Regions from separate parts of the Homo sapiens genome. Here region 2 is linked to region 1. Evidence: promoter capture Hi-C in 16 types of primary human blood cells and fetal thymus (Javierre and others, 2016). All regions are on one chromosome and are shown on one strand. The core of a region is centred on a gene start or on the middle of the fragment in contact, and the rest is flanking DNA. Distances in the headings are between cores, read along the strand shown.

The links. Contacts are between HindIII fragments. The CHiCAGO score rates a contact against its expected background, and 5 or more counts as called.
Region 2: a contact is called between a fragment that was not itself captured here and the fragment with the promoter of TXNDC9 in region 1, in 1 of 17 cell types (erythroblasts). The highest score is 5.2, in erythroblasts.

What each region holds. Positions count from the first base shown.
Region 1 is chr2:99,331,014-99,338,445 of GRCh38, forward strand. TXNDC9 (thioredoxin domain containing 9) reads right to left here and starts at 5,320. Exons shown (of 5, transcript NM_005783.4): 1 at 5,226-5,320; 2 at 2,009-2,229. The coding sequence starts at 2,197. It overlaps EIF5B (eukaryotic translation initiation factor 5B), which reads left to right and starts at 6,376. Exons shown (of 24, transcript NM_015904.4): 1 at 6,376-6,576. The coding sequence starts at 6,542. RefSeq lists enhancers at 4,805-5,034, 5,088-5,628, 5,165-5,214, 5,465-5,614, 5,975-6,024 and 5 more and a silencer at 6,645-6,804. The HindIII fragment of the contact is 22,802 bases long and covers 1-7,432 here.
Region 2 is chr2:99,067,827-99,074,739 of GRCh38, forward strand. It overlaps TSGA10 (testis specific 10), which reads right to left. Exons shown (of 21, transcript NM_025244.4): 13 at 5,192-5,247; 14 at 3,880-4,048; 15 at 1,062-1,172. Among named protein-coding and RNA genes, the nearest start is that of C2orf15, 70 kb to the right of the region's middle. The HindIII fragment of the contact is 887 bases long and covers 2,768-3,654 here.

The DNA.
Region 1 (7,432 bases), core at 4,070-6,569:
TTTAATTATATTCAGACCACTGTTTTGAACTGCCAAAAAGTTCCTTTAAGACATTATTTAACGTATGTTCATCACTGCAAATCAGGTGAATTCAGTCTCTCTACAAAAATATCCTAGTTACAAATAATTATTTTTAGTTGCACATTAGCAATTAGTACTTAAATGTGACTATGAAATATGAGTTTGTGGCAGAACCTAAACATATATTACCTTAAATTCCAATAATCCGTCCTTTGCATACTAATTATCAGCCCTATACTATGAAAAGAAGCCAATTGGGCCTGGTGTGGGGTGGCTCACACCTGTAATCCCAGCACTTTGGGAGGCTGAGGCAGGCGGATCATTTGAGGTCGGAATTTGAGACCAGCCTGACCAACATGATGAAACCCCATCTCTACTAAAGTACAAAAATCAGCTGGGCATGGTGGCAGGCACCTGTAATCCCAGCTACTTGAGAGGTCAAGGCAGGATGGGCAACAGAGTGAGACTCCCTCTCAAAAAAAAAAAAAAAAAGAAAGAAAAGAAAAAGAAAAGCAGCCTATTTTTTAAAATACGGTAGGGTACAGGTAAAAGCCATATAACGTACTCTATTTTAGAAACTCAAAATATAAAAATTTGGACTCACTTATAAAAGATTATTTCCTTTTGTAGTAACTCTTCTAAACATGAGGGTGTAAACATATCAAAGTGATGCTACAGCAATACAAACAAAACTCCTTCTCTTTTTTTGTGGGGGAACTGGGTCTTGCTCTATCATCCAGGCTGGAGTGCAGTAGCACAATCTCGACTCACGGCAACCTCCACCTCCCGGGTTCAAGAGATTCTCCTGCCTCAGCCTCCTGAGTAGCTGGGACTACAGGTGTGCGCCACCACACCTGGCTAATTTTTGTATTTTTTGTAGAGACAGGGTTTCACCATGTTGGCCAGGCTGGTATTGAACTCCCGACCTCAGGTTGTCCGCTCACCTTGGACTCCCAAAGTGTTGGGATTACAGATGTGAACCACCATGCCCGGTCAAAACTCCCTATTTCTTCAGAAAAGTTAAGCCTCATGTTTAAGTCACAGTCAACTGAAAAGGAACCAGAGTTGGTGATAAAGTATTTCCATGTAACCCAGTGGAAAAAATGTTTTAATCAAAATTCAATTTGGCCAGGTGCGGTAGCTCACGCTTGTAATCCCATCACTTTGGCAGGCTAAGGTGGGCGGATCACTTGAGGTCAGAAGTTCAAGGGCAGCCTAGCCAACATGGCGAAACCCCATCTCTACTAAAAATACAAAACTTAGCCAGGCATGGTGGTGTGCGCCTGTAGTCCCAGCTACTCGGGTGGCTGAGGCAGAATAATTGCTTGAAGCCGGGAAGCGGAGGTTGCAGTGAGTTGAGATGACACCACTGTACTCCAGCCAGGGTGTCACAGCGAGACTCCATCTCAAAAAGCAGAAAAAAAAATTTCAATTTACAGAATTTAATCCACTGGTTTCAGTCAGAGTTTACAACTCTGCGTTTATTCTACACAAACATTCTAAGAGGCAACAACGATAGAGCTGTGGCCACCTTTGTTACAAAGCATGCATTCTTTTGAATATGCCACATAATTATTTCATTGGAAATGCCTGAAATACATTTTTCAACATAAATTGACTTAATTGCTCTTATCTCATCTGTCTTATCTCGTTTGCTTTGAAAATAGCTAAATCGGCTTTAATATTACCTGAAATGGAAACCAATGACTCCCTAGCCCTCCATTCAACCAAACAAATCCAAGCTCAGAAAAACGATCTTGGGCAGATCTTTCTTTTACTCGACTGTGGATTAATATAGAGATTGGGCTAATTTTGAATGTCTTTAAAACATATTTTTTTCTGGGCAAATTTTTAACAGTAATAGGTATTCTGAATTTTAAAAACCCTAAACACAAAGAACGAAATGTAACTACTACAGCACATGTATATATAAGTTGTTAGGCGCATACTGTTATAGCAATTTCAGAAAGCAGGGCAGAGAGGTTACTTGTTTCTGCTGTTGAGCTTTCCTTAGTGCCTGGAGTCTCTTTTCTTTAAGGCGTTCCAATTCATCCTCATCCATCTGATCCAGTTTTTGAATTTCAGAATCCAAATGTTCTTCCACCAGTTTGGTAGTCTGAAGCAGCTGATGCTCCAGGACTTTGGAAAACATGTCAACAGATGCATCAGCTTCCATTCTTCCAAATGGTACAGAGTTCAGCCTGGGTGCTGGGGAGAAGATTTACAAAATACATTTTAAAAAATGCAAACAATAAGCAAGGTTTTCTCTACCATTTTCAAAAATTCTGGCAAGTGTATAATGTGTACTCTATGGAGTATTCTAACGACATCCAAGCACTTGATGCTGGGCTTAACAATTTTTATGTGTTTTTAAATTTAATTCTCAGTAGGTTCTAGTCACACCACTCAAAAACTACTTACAGCAAATTTAGGGTGCTTCTGATTTAGCATATGTTTTACTATACTAAAGCCAAGACAAGTCTTTAAGACCATCACCAAACCACAGAGAAATGAGTTGTGAAGTTATACCTAGTGATATATACTGACAATCAGTGTTCTTTACCAATGGGAAAGAGAAATCAGAAACAACTGCGAACAATAGGAAGGTATACCTACTGAGGTTTTACACATAAATATATATATTAAACTTTACTTAAACACAGAGTACAGTTGAGCAAAACACAGATTTTTTTCATGGCTGCTGCCCAAATGAGTTTCATTTAACTCCTAAGACGTCTCATTACCATTTATGTAAAGAAGAGTGCCTGGTGTTCCCTGAGCATTAATGTCCATTCCTGTTCTCCCATTACCTAACAAAAAAGTCTATGAGGTCACAAAAATTAATACTGGTTTCCATTTACTGACAGTGTTAACTTTGATGTAAAACACTCCAAATACTTTTCTAAATTTTGGGTTTTTTTCCAACATCACTCCTCTGTGTAAAATCAGAGTTTCAAAATAGAACTAATTCAGATTAGAAAGGAAGACCTATCTCAATTAGTCATGCATCACTTAACAATGGGAATATATTCTAGGCTGGGTGCTATGGCTCACGCCTGTAATCCCAGCACTTTGGGAGGCCAAGGTGGGCAGATCACTTGAGTTCAGATGTTTGAGACCAGCCTGGGAAACATGATGGAACCCTGTCTCTACTAAAAATAGAAAAATTGGCCAGGCCCGGTGGTGTGTGCCTGTAGTCCCCGCTACTAGGGAGGCTGAAGTGGGAGGAGGATACCTTGAGCCCAGGAGGCAGAGGTTGCAGTGGGCTGAGAACGCACCACTTGCACCCCACCCTGGGCAACAGAGCCAGACCCTGTCTCAAAAACCAAAAACCAAAAACCCACAAAACAATGAGAATACATTCTGAGAAATGCATCATTAGGTGATTTTGATATTGTTTCAAACATTATAGACTATTTACACAAACCCAGATGGTACAGCCTGCTACACACCTAGGCTATGCCATACAGCCTATTACTCCTAGGCTACAAATCTGTACAGCATGTTACTGTACTGAATACTGCAGACAACTGTAACATAATGGCATTTGTGTATCTAAACATAGAAAAGGTACGATAAATACAGTATTACAATCTCATAAAACTGAAATGTCCTTATGTGGCACATGACTATATATTTTAAAAGAAATGGAGTATTTTGTACTAGCAATTAGTACAAAATTTTACTTTTTTTTTTGAGACGGAGTCTCGCTCTGTCGCCCAGGCTGGAGTGCAGTGGCGCATCTCCGCTCACTGCTAGCTCCGCCTCCTGGGTTCACGCCATTCTCCTGCCTCAGCCTCCCGAGTAGCCGGGACTACAGGCGCCCGCCACCACGCCCGGCTAATTTCTTTTTGTATTTTTAGTACAGACGGGGTTTCACCGTGTTAGCCAGGATGGCTACGATCTCCTGACCTCGTGATCCGCCCGCCTCGGCCTCCCAAAGTGCTGAGATTACAGGCGTGAGCCAGCCGCGCCCGGCCAAAATTTTACTTCTTTTAAAAGAAATGGAGTATTTTGTACGAGAAATTTTATACCAACAATTAGAGGGCAAGTTTATGTGTATCTCAGGGTTATTACTGCAGAAATGATTTATAATTTGCCTATCAAAGCAGGAGGCTGTTGCATATCAATGAACTATGATACATTTGCAAATAATACTGAAGCACCCCAAACTTCACAACAAACTGTGAATTCATTCACTCAGCTTCTGACACAGATTCTGACCCACACAGGCCCTCTATAAACGTTGAGCTGAAGAGAAATATTCTTGCAAACTTCAATTCTGATTCCTTTTTCTTTACAGGAAAAGGATTTGAAAAGCATACTTGATTTCATCTTTGTATCTCCATAGAACACAGCAGGTACTCAATAAACATGTATTTAACGTTGAATGAACACGTGCCTGACTTCTGTTCAAATTACTACACTGTTAAGTTTCAAAAGTATTTGAGTCTAAAAAACCAAATTGTAAGCTCCTCGTGAGTGCTATAAAATTGGAAAGGTGCTGTATTTCAAACACAGCAAAGATTTCCACGCTCCCTATCGCCCAAGAAAAATGTCAGTAGGACTGTGACCCTCAGTGAGGGGGCTGGAAGGAGAAGATAATAAGATACTGAATTGAACGTTGGAAGCTGTGCTCCAGGGATAAGCACAGAGAATGCCTACCCTGGAACTTTATAGAATGAGCCCAGAATTTAATTATGGGATAACTGGAAAAAGACGAGATTAAGAAGAGCTATTCTGGGTGTAGGTGTTGGTGGTCAGAGCATTGAGAATGGGGTAAAGAGACGATGCAACCCCTCGTTAGCTTTTCATTTTTCAAACCACAGCCTCTGATTCTTCCTTTTTACAGCTCCGCTGGAAGGGTGGGACGGGACACAGCGCGTCCTCAAATTCCCTAGTCATTTCCTGGACACCCTTACAGGTATCCGCCAAAACAATCAAGGGGCCTGGTCCTTAACTGAACCCCAGGTACCTCCCCAATGGCAAGCCGGCCACTCCCTGCGCCCGGGGAAACAGAGGAAAGCACAGTCCCGGTGGCCCCAACTTCGACGCCTCCTGGTGCGCTTGCGCAAGAGCCTCTGCCAGGACACCGACACCGGTGCTGGGGCCGCGCCCCTCCTCCGCTCCGGATGTGGAGCAGCAGAATGTTCACCAGCACCCGGACGTGGTGGTCGGATTCTTCTCACTACCCTCTGCCTCACCTGAGCTCTCGGTGACGCCTGAGAAGTGAAAGAGCAGCAGTTTCAAAAGACACGTCCACTCCGGCTTTTGCCTTGCAGTAGCTGCCGGCGGCTGCAAACGGGCCGTCACATCCGCCTCCTTATTGGCTGCGAACCTCGCGCGATATCACCTTGGACGCCAGAGGAAGGGGCGGGCGGTCGGGTGGCGAACAGTTCTGCGCGTGCGCCTCCCGCCCAGCAGCCCGGAACCCAAGGTGTCCGACCCTTGCTTTCCTCCGGGTACACGGCCGAACTGGAAGGCCGCAAAGCATTGTGGGAGTTGCAGTTTCTTAGTGCGCAGGCTGTCGTGGCCGGACTTTCTCAGGAGCGTGCTTCAGTATTCACGGTCCAGTGCGCCAGACTGGAAATGAGACAGCTGTGCTCTCGCTCAGCCGTGACGCTTGAACTGCGTTTCCATTCTGTTAGTGTTGAATGAACATTTTTCTTTTTTTTGTTTTCTTTTGTTAACATTTTTCCTAAAGTCGAGGCATAAACATATACAGCACAATTAACTTTTGCATAGTTAAAACCCAAAATATCACCGGCCAGATCCAGATATAGAACATTTTCCACCACCCCTGTAGGTCCCCTCTTGACTCTTCGAAACACAGGAATTTTTAGAACTCGCCCTCGCTTTGAGGGTGAAGCTGAAGACCTATGTTAGGGAATTGATCGGCTGTGTCCTGTTCTGTTTTATTCAGTGACTGTACATAATGCATAATGCATGGATGTTACTGAGAGGTCCCTATTTTGTCCTGAATTTATCTCTCTCGCAAACCCCCAGAGGACTCTATTGGTTCGTTGTGGTTCTTTACTGAACTTCGTGCGGCTGAGAATACAAAGATATAAAGGGAAGCCCAAAGCCCACTCCTGAACCGAAGCGTGCGTTCCCCGTTGGGAGAGGGGTGAGGTGGCGAAATTGACAGCTTCATTGTCCACCTCCGGGTTCTAGAACGTGGAAAACCCGCGGGTGTCGGCTCGTGGCGGACGCTTGAGGGCAGGGGGCGCTCGGGCTGCTGCCTGGTCGGCCGGTCAACCGGAGACGCTCTACCCGAAGCGCAGCTCTCGATGAGCCGCGCCCTGCGTCCTCACGCCGAGGCGGCTGGGCGATGCGCTTGCGCACTGAGAACTCACACCATATGTGTCCTGTTCCAGTGCGCGGGTCTGTGGAGAGCCGGGTGCGAGCGGCGGCAGCACGAGGGGAAAAGAGCTGAGCGGAGACCAAAGTCAGCCGGGAGACAGTGGGTCTGTGAGAGACCGAATAGAGGGGCTGGGGCCACGAGCGCCATTGACAAGCAATGGGGAAGAAACAGAAAAACAAGAGCGAAGACAGGTAGATAGGGGTTGGGTCCGTACGGCGGCGGCCGCCGTGGCTCAGTGGAGTGTGCGGGTCTCGCCGGGCGCGGCGTCGGACCGGGGTCTGGGCTCGCGATGAGCTTCGCGGGGTACCAGGCCTGGGCCCAGAGTGTGCGGAGCGGGCCCAAGCCCCCGGGCCGGGTGGGCACGTAGGGCCTCGACGGCGGGCGGGTCCTCCCAGTCGAGCCTCGCTCCCCCGGCACCCCTTCCCCGGCCTGAGGAGCGGGGTAGTCATTTGAGGGTTCCTGGTCGCGCGGGGAGGGTCAGGCGGCTTCGCCAGCGTGGCCCAGGCCAGTGTGAGTTTTTTTCCGCGCTACTCTTGGCGAGGGTGGGGAAGTTCTTTTTATGCCTCTTATACCTGTGAGTACTTTGGGAGGGAAGGGAGCTTGAATGTGATGTACGGCCGGGTTTCTCTACTCGCGGTTTCAGGTACGTTAGAGTTATGGGGAGGTGTTTAGCAGTTCGCTGTCTCTCAACTTAATCTGATTTGGATACAGTTTTCGTTTATTTAAGGGCTGATTGTCCAGCCCTCATGCTTTTCGCTTTCCTTCTTCCGGCCTGTTTTTTTTTGTCGTTTCTTTGCTCTCTAGCCTTCCCCTAAGAAAGGAAGGGAAGAAGAAGAAACCAACCAACCGAGGTCGCTCCTTTCTAACCACCTGCAATGCTTTGGGGAGGGAGGATAAGGGTATATGCGAGTTACTTACCTAGAGATTTTTGAGACATTTCTGTGTGTCACATTCGATTGAGTTCTGTTACTCATGATGGAAAGAGTTGACTTCCTGGGAGTGAACAACATCTGTTACATTACACGTTCGTACACTACCCACCAAACT
Region 2 (6,913 bases), core at 1,961-4,460, 270 kb before region 1:
TACAGTGAGCCTGTCTCAAAAAAAAAAAAAAGTGTTGCTCTGGATATTCATTTATTTATTTCTGACCTATTCTAGAATAGATTCAGATGGCTCACTGTGCTAGGTGTTTTAAATTATCTCACTTACTTGGGTGTTCTTCCCGATTACAGATGGGAAGAATCAGAGAGGCTGAGTAGCCTGCATAAATAAAAAGCCTTTTGTTCATTTATGGTATTACATTGCTGGAACCTTAAAATCAGGAAGTGTAGGAAACCACGTGCTTTTCCTACACAGGCTGCTTGCTGCCTGAAAGCAAGGATTGCAATTTAGAAATCCTTAGAATCTCTTCTGTCTCAAAGCCCTTAACAGTACTATGCATACCATAAATAAATGTTCAAGATATGTTTGTGGACTGACATGAAATGATAAAATAGTATAGGTGGATTGATTATTATAATAGGTATAGTGTTACCTACATACCACTCAAACCATTAATGGGAACATCCTCCCTCAATTTTAGATAATATTTTACCTAATAGACATATCTAAAATCCTCAGTAAAGCTGCCTGTTTATTCCTGAGTTGCCACACATGCACCACACTTATTGGAGTCATCTGATGTCATGTACATGTGCCTGGTCAAATGATTGCTAACAGAGAAGTGTGAGGAGAACCATCTGCCTTGTGGTCCTAAAAAAAATAGATGGTCCCATAACAGGGTAACCAATTCTGATCTGCTACATAATCAGGTGGAACCTCTTTTGTCAGAGGTTTATAACTGGAAACCCCACCACTTTCAATTAATTATAAGCGAGGTCAAATTGATTTTAGCCCTTTGTCCATCATCCAGTTAGGAAGATTCTGCTTGTCTAGAGTGGCAGAGTTGCAAAACAAAAGGGGCATATTCTCCAGGCATCTTTCTGAACATTCTAAATATGTAGTTAACCCACCATTGTCAAAACTAAAATATACTATGTATTAAAGAAAGCTTTGATTCACCTGTCGTTCTGAGTATACCAACTTCTAAATTAACTCTAGTGAAAACTAAGTATCATGAGCAAAAAGAAAAAAAAAATACATACTTCAGACTTTAATATATTCTTCAGCTTGTTAACCTCCAAATTAGTATCTTGAACCTTCTGTTTTATGTCATTAAGTTCATTATGAGTGTCATTCAATTTTTTGGACAGTGCCTACGAAAAAAAGATAGGTATATTTGACTATGAAAAATAAAAAATTTCTATATCTCAAAAATACCATAAACAAATTTTTAAACACTTGGAACAAATAAAATTAACATACCTAATATATAAACTCATATAAAAAAAGAAAACACATAAGCCCAATAGCAAGTGGGCAAATGACCCAAATAAGCAATTCAAAAAAGGAAGCATAAGTAGGTAAGACCTGAAAAAAACTCTACTAGCAACTGAAGATATGCTAATTAAAACAACACATTACTATTCTGCTTATCAAATTAATAAAGATTTAAAGCTATTCAGCTATGGTAAAGAATGGGCATTTCCATGTACTACTGGAGTAAATGTAGATTTGCAGAAAGCAAATCTGTGATCAGGAATCTGGTGATGTATCAAGAGACAATTTTTAAATGCTCATAAAAACAAGAAAGACAAAAATGTTGATTATTTTTGAAGGTGGGAAATGGCACATGGGGATTCATTATATTTGAAAATGTCTATTTACATTTTTTTAATTTAAAAAAGAAACCTCAGCTGGGTGTTTTTCCTGTAATCCTGGCACTTTGGGAGGATCACTTGAGCCTAAGAGTTTGAGACCAGCCTGAACAACATAGTGGGAACCCAACTCTACAATAAATAAATAAATAAATAAATAAATAATAATTAAAAAGAAACCTGATAATCTGTGATTCACTCTGAAATGAAATCTAATAAAATTTAATGAGATGCTGTCATTAAGGCATTTGTTACAGTGACAATATTTATTCACATTAAGTGAATCATGCAGTAAATAATAGTATATCTACATAGTGGCATAACCACATAATGGAATATTACATACCTGTGAGAAATGTTTGGAATGATTTTTAATAATACAGGGAAATATTTGCCTATGTTAAGTGAAAAAAAAATCGTGCTAAAACACAAAAATACCTCATTATCCCAATTTGTTAAAAATTGTGGTATCAAGGATAAATTTTTTTTAAGTTTCCACTTTCTCGTCTTCTGCAATACTGGTTCTTAACCTGTGGTCCACAGAGAGAGACCTCTCTTCTACCTTGGGCCTATGACCATAACGAAGAAAAAACTACTTTTGAGCATATGTAAATTGTTATGACAACAGTTTTCTTCTGATTATAAAAAATGTTTACAAAGTTTGAACAAGGCAGGAAAATGCTTACAATATTATAGTAAGCTAATAATAGCTATAAAATATTTATTGAGTGATATACTGGACAGTACAGTAAGTGCTTTCCAGGTATAGTCTCACTTATTAACCATTTTTACAGATGCTACAGAGACTCAGAGAAGTTGGTTTATATGATCACACACGCAGAGAGCAAGATTCAACCCATGTGAATCTTACTCGACTCTACTGCCTCTTCATGTAGAAAAAAGCATGATCTAAAGTGATAGGTGATTTTATCCCACTACATTAGAAAATGTGTATAAAAATAGTGTTAAAATTTTTAAGTGCACTGTATAGCAATTAAAAAAATATGTCAAATATAACAGTAACTGAGTATCAAAAACATGGGGGCTTTTCTAAACTCTTAACTTTTTGTTTAGAAAAAAGACTTTCTATAATAAGCTTCTATTTCTAAACCAATCAAAAAAATAGAAACTAAATTTCTAGGTTTTCATAAATAAGATATATCCACCTTTAGCCCATATGCTCTAGCTGTAAAGAGTACACAAAGGCAAACCTTACAAATTCCCATGTTTTGGTTTTTATTGCTATTCATTAATTTTTTAAATAAACTTTTAGAATAGTTTTAGATTTACAGAAAAGTTGTGAAGACATTATAAAGGGCACCTCTATTGTTAACATTTTACATTAGTATGGTGCATATGTCACAATTAATAAGCCAATATTGACACATTATTATCTGAAGTCCATACTTTATTCAGATTTCTTTCCTTTTTTACATAATGTCCTTTTTCTATTCCAGGATCCCATTATTCATTTACTTTTAAACAAAATACTTTAACATCTCAGATAATTTTTTATGATTAACAAAGTATTACAGCTTTATAGCTGTTTAAGTAAATTAATAATCTTCAACAGTTAAAGAACACAGACTTTCAGGATGCAAACTAAACACACTGAAAGTGATACAAAGTGGGGAAAACCATTTGGTCTTAAAAATTTTGAGAAGGGAAGAAATTTTCCAAATAGGATTTTTAAATGTTCACGTTAAAATAAATGTTATTGGAAATGAGAACTGCAGATTAGACTTAAATATATTGCCTTAGGGAGAAAGAGTAATTATAAGAGGAACTTTCCTAAAAAGAATCACAGTGCTAATGAGAACCAAAAAACAAGGCACAGTCCATACATTCATACTTAAAACAGAATAATATGTAGTCCATTTTTTTAAAAAAAAAACACCTATTCTTTTCTTTAAGGTTTCTCAAGGTTTTTATTCTCATTTTTTGATTATTCAAATATTTATCCTTCAGCAAGGAAGTACTAAGCTTTAATACAAATATAGCCCTGTTCTCTCTTTTCTTTAATATTTAACCCTTTGTGTCTGAGAATTCCATTTAAAAATTATGTGGCCTATTTTGTTATTTTTTAAAAAAAAGAAAAGGCTAGTTCCAGTGTCTGAGCTCTTCTATAAAATAAAATGAGGGCTGTTCCTCACAAGAAATTCATATTTTTTTTTCTTGGAGAAAATGATTCTAGGAACAAGTGTACCTGGTTTTCTTGTTTAGCTTTAGCAAACTGTTCCTGGAGATTGTCATTGTCATGAGCCAAGATATCTCTTTCCCTGGCGATCTGGGCCAGCTCATCATTTGTCTCATCCAATTGCCGACGCATTCTGGAAACGTCTTGTTCACACACAATTAGGGCCTCAGTACACTGTCTATTCCACAAATCAAAGAGTACATAAGAAGAGACATTTTACTGAAACAGAGCAACAAATTCTCACAAGACAGAAGATGGACAGTTAGTATGAAAACATTTGAAGAGATTTTAAACACGTTTGAATTTATAGGAATAAATACTGCAAAGACAGTGCATTAGAGTTTCTCAATGTTGCCATCATTTCGCTATGAAAAGGATACAAAGTATACATAATAGTCAATGATTTGCCAAATATTTCAAAACTTCTTACATCAAGTATTAGGAAGGCTTTCATCCTACTTCTGTTATGGCTTAGTCTCCTTTACAGATTCCTCTTCCTCTGCCCACTTAAAAATTAATGCTTTTCAGGGCTCAAGCCCTAGCCTCCCAATTATTCTCACTCTAACCCTTCTCTCAGACAAACTCTATTCATATCCATGGTTCCCAACCCCATCTAGATCCAATGACTCCAAAATAATTATCTCCAGTTTTAGACCCTCTGTTATACTCCAGACTTATATTTAACTGCTTACTAGACATGTCTACAATAAGGTCCCAAAGGTTCTTCAAATTCAGAGGTAAAATCATTTTTTCTCCTCATACTTTCTTCATGTTCAGTATTTGTCCCTGGCCAGAAACTTGGCATTTTCCTGGTGTCTCTCCCTCATACAAAAGCATTTCACTCCTTCTGTCCCACAACTCCTAAACCCCAATTTATCACCACCTCTTCTGCTTAGGTATCTTTCTAACACAAAATTCTCCTCAGAATTCTTTAATGATTTCTTATTGCCCAAAGGATATAACCAATACTCATTTGTCTGTTACACAAGCCTCTGCCTGCCTATTTAGTCTCCTCCCTTCACTTCTCCCCTTACACTCTAGGTTTCAACAACACTCACCCACTTGTAGGTCAAGAGGCTTGTCAACATGATCTGTGGTTCTTTGCTATTCTTTCTACTTTAAATGCCCTTCCCTTCCCCTTATTTTACTTGGCAAACACCATCCCCTCTTTTAGTTCCTTAGACAGACTTAGGCCTCCTTTGATGAGAGAGTTAGCACCTTACACGTATCATTAAGCCCCTTGTTTCTTACTATCTTTGTACCTAACATGGTACTTGGCCCCCCAGTAAGAGCTCATATATTTGTTGCACGACTGATTTACCTTGATGCCTGTTCCATCTCAGCAATGATATTCTTCATGCCTGAAATGGTCTTTTCCTTGAAAAATAATATAAGTATTAAATAAAAAAATCTTAAGCTGTTATTTCTGTTAAAATTGAATGAACAAAAAGAAAATTTCCCTTTCCCTTTAGGTTTCCATTTGGTTTTAAAAACATGTATGTCCTATTCTTTTCCACACTTTAAAGCCTAGTATATCAATGTGAATATTTGCACTGGGTAAAAATAGATTATGTTCATTAAAGTAAAGGCTATACTTAGGTGTAATTATGAGATCAGTATATCAAATTCTTTGTCAAAAGATATTTTATGCAGTCACCCAGCAATACAAGAACCCTATAACCACCTGTTTTTGGAGGCAAACCAATGGTTTGGCATTGGAGTATTGGCATTTTATACTGGGATTTAGAACTGGTTCTCTTGCTCACATTCTTTATGTTATAAAACCCAGAGAAGCCAATCATGTATACCTAAATTTAGTTTTTAAGAATAATTTTGATTAAGTGTATTATTTATATTAGCCAGCAACAAAATCTTCAAAAAGCTGTTCCAATCCAATTACTTATAGAAGTATACTACTGATATTTAGGTGAGAGCTAATAAGAAGGTAAGCATTAGGCCTCGAGCAAAGGTAAGAGAAATAAACTATATTTTCCTTTTTCAAAGGCGTGATGAGGGAGTAGAAGTAGTGGAGTCAGTCAAGGCAGAAATGGGTTTGAATATCTTAATGCCTTTAATACCATTCCCACACCTCTTTTTAAAACTTCCATTGACCCTGAACTAGTCCAACTATAAACAGATACTTAGAGCTAACATTAGCCCTAAAAAAGTAAGAAAGTTATTTCACTAAGTAATAACTAGATTTCACCTTGCCATTTGAATTTTCAAATTTTAAGTAACTAAGTAAAAAGATTTTTAAAAACCCAAACCTATATTTTCCAACCAATTCTGTTCCTGTTTCTTTTCTTTTTTTTTTTTTTTTTTTTTTTTTTTTTGAGATGGAGTTTTGCTCTTGATGCCCCGGCTGGAGTGCGAGGGCGCGATCTCGGCTCACTGCAACCTCCGCCTCCCAGGTTCAAGCGATTCTCCTGCCTCAGCCTCCCAAGTAGCTGGGACTACAGGCATGCGCCACCATGCCCAGCTAATTTTTTGTATACTTAGTAGAGACGGGGTTTCACTATGTTGGCCAGGCTGGTCTCAAACTCCTGACTTCAAGTGATCCACCCACCTCGGCCTCCCAAAGTGCTGGGATTACAGGCGTAAGCCACTGCGCCCGGCCGTTCCTATTTCTTTAGCGTTAGTTTTACACATATTTGCGTGTGTGTGTGTGTGTGTGTGTGTGCTATCTTCCTTTATTCATGTGCTCTTCTCCAGGGTATTTTTAGCTACAGTTTCCCATTCTGCTTTCTCATGGAATGGTACAGATTCCACATCTGGCAGTAATAGATACTGGTGTGTTGTTAAAATATGCATTAAAAAAAAAGTTAAACCCCTTCAAGAAGGACAAGCCAACGAAGGAAAAACTAAAAGACAAAATACTCCATAAAATGGAATGTTTACACATTTTTGAAATATAATTTAATACATTTCTAAACAAATTCTGAAAAGCTAGTTGAACTAGTGCTTTTGAAAGTCTTTACTTGAGGCCGAATGCGGTGGCTTATGCCTGTAATCCCAGCACTTTGAGAGGGTGAGGCAGGCGGAA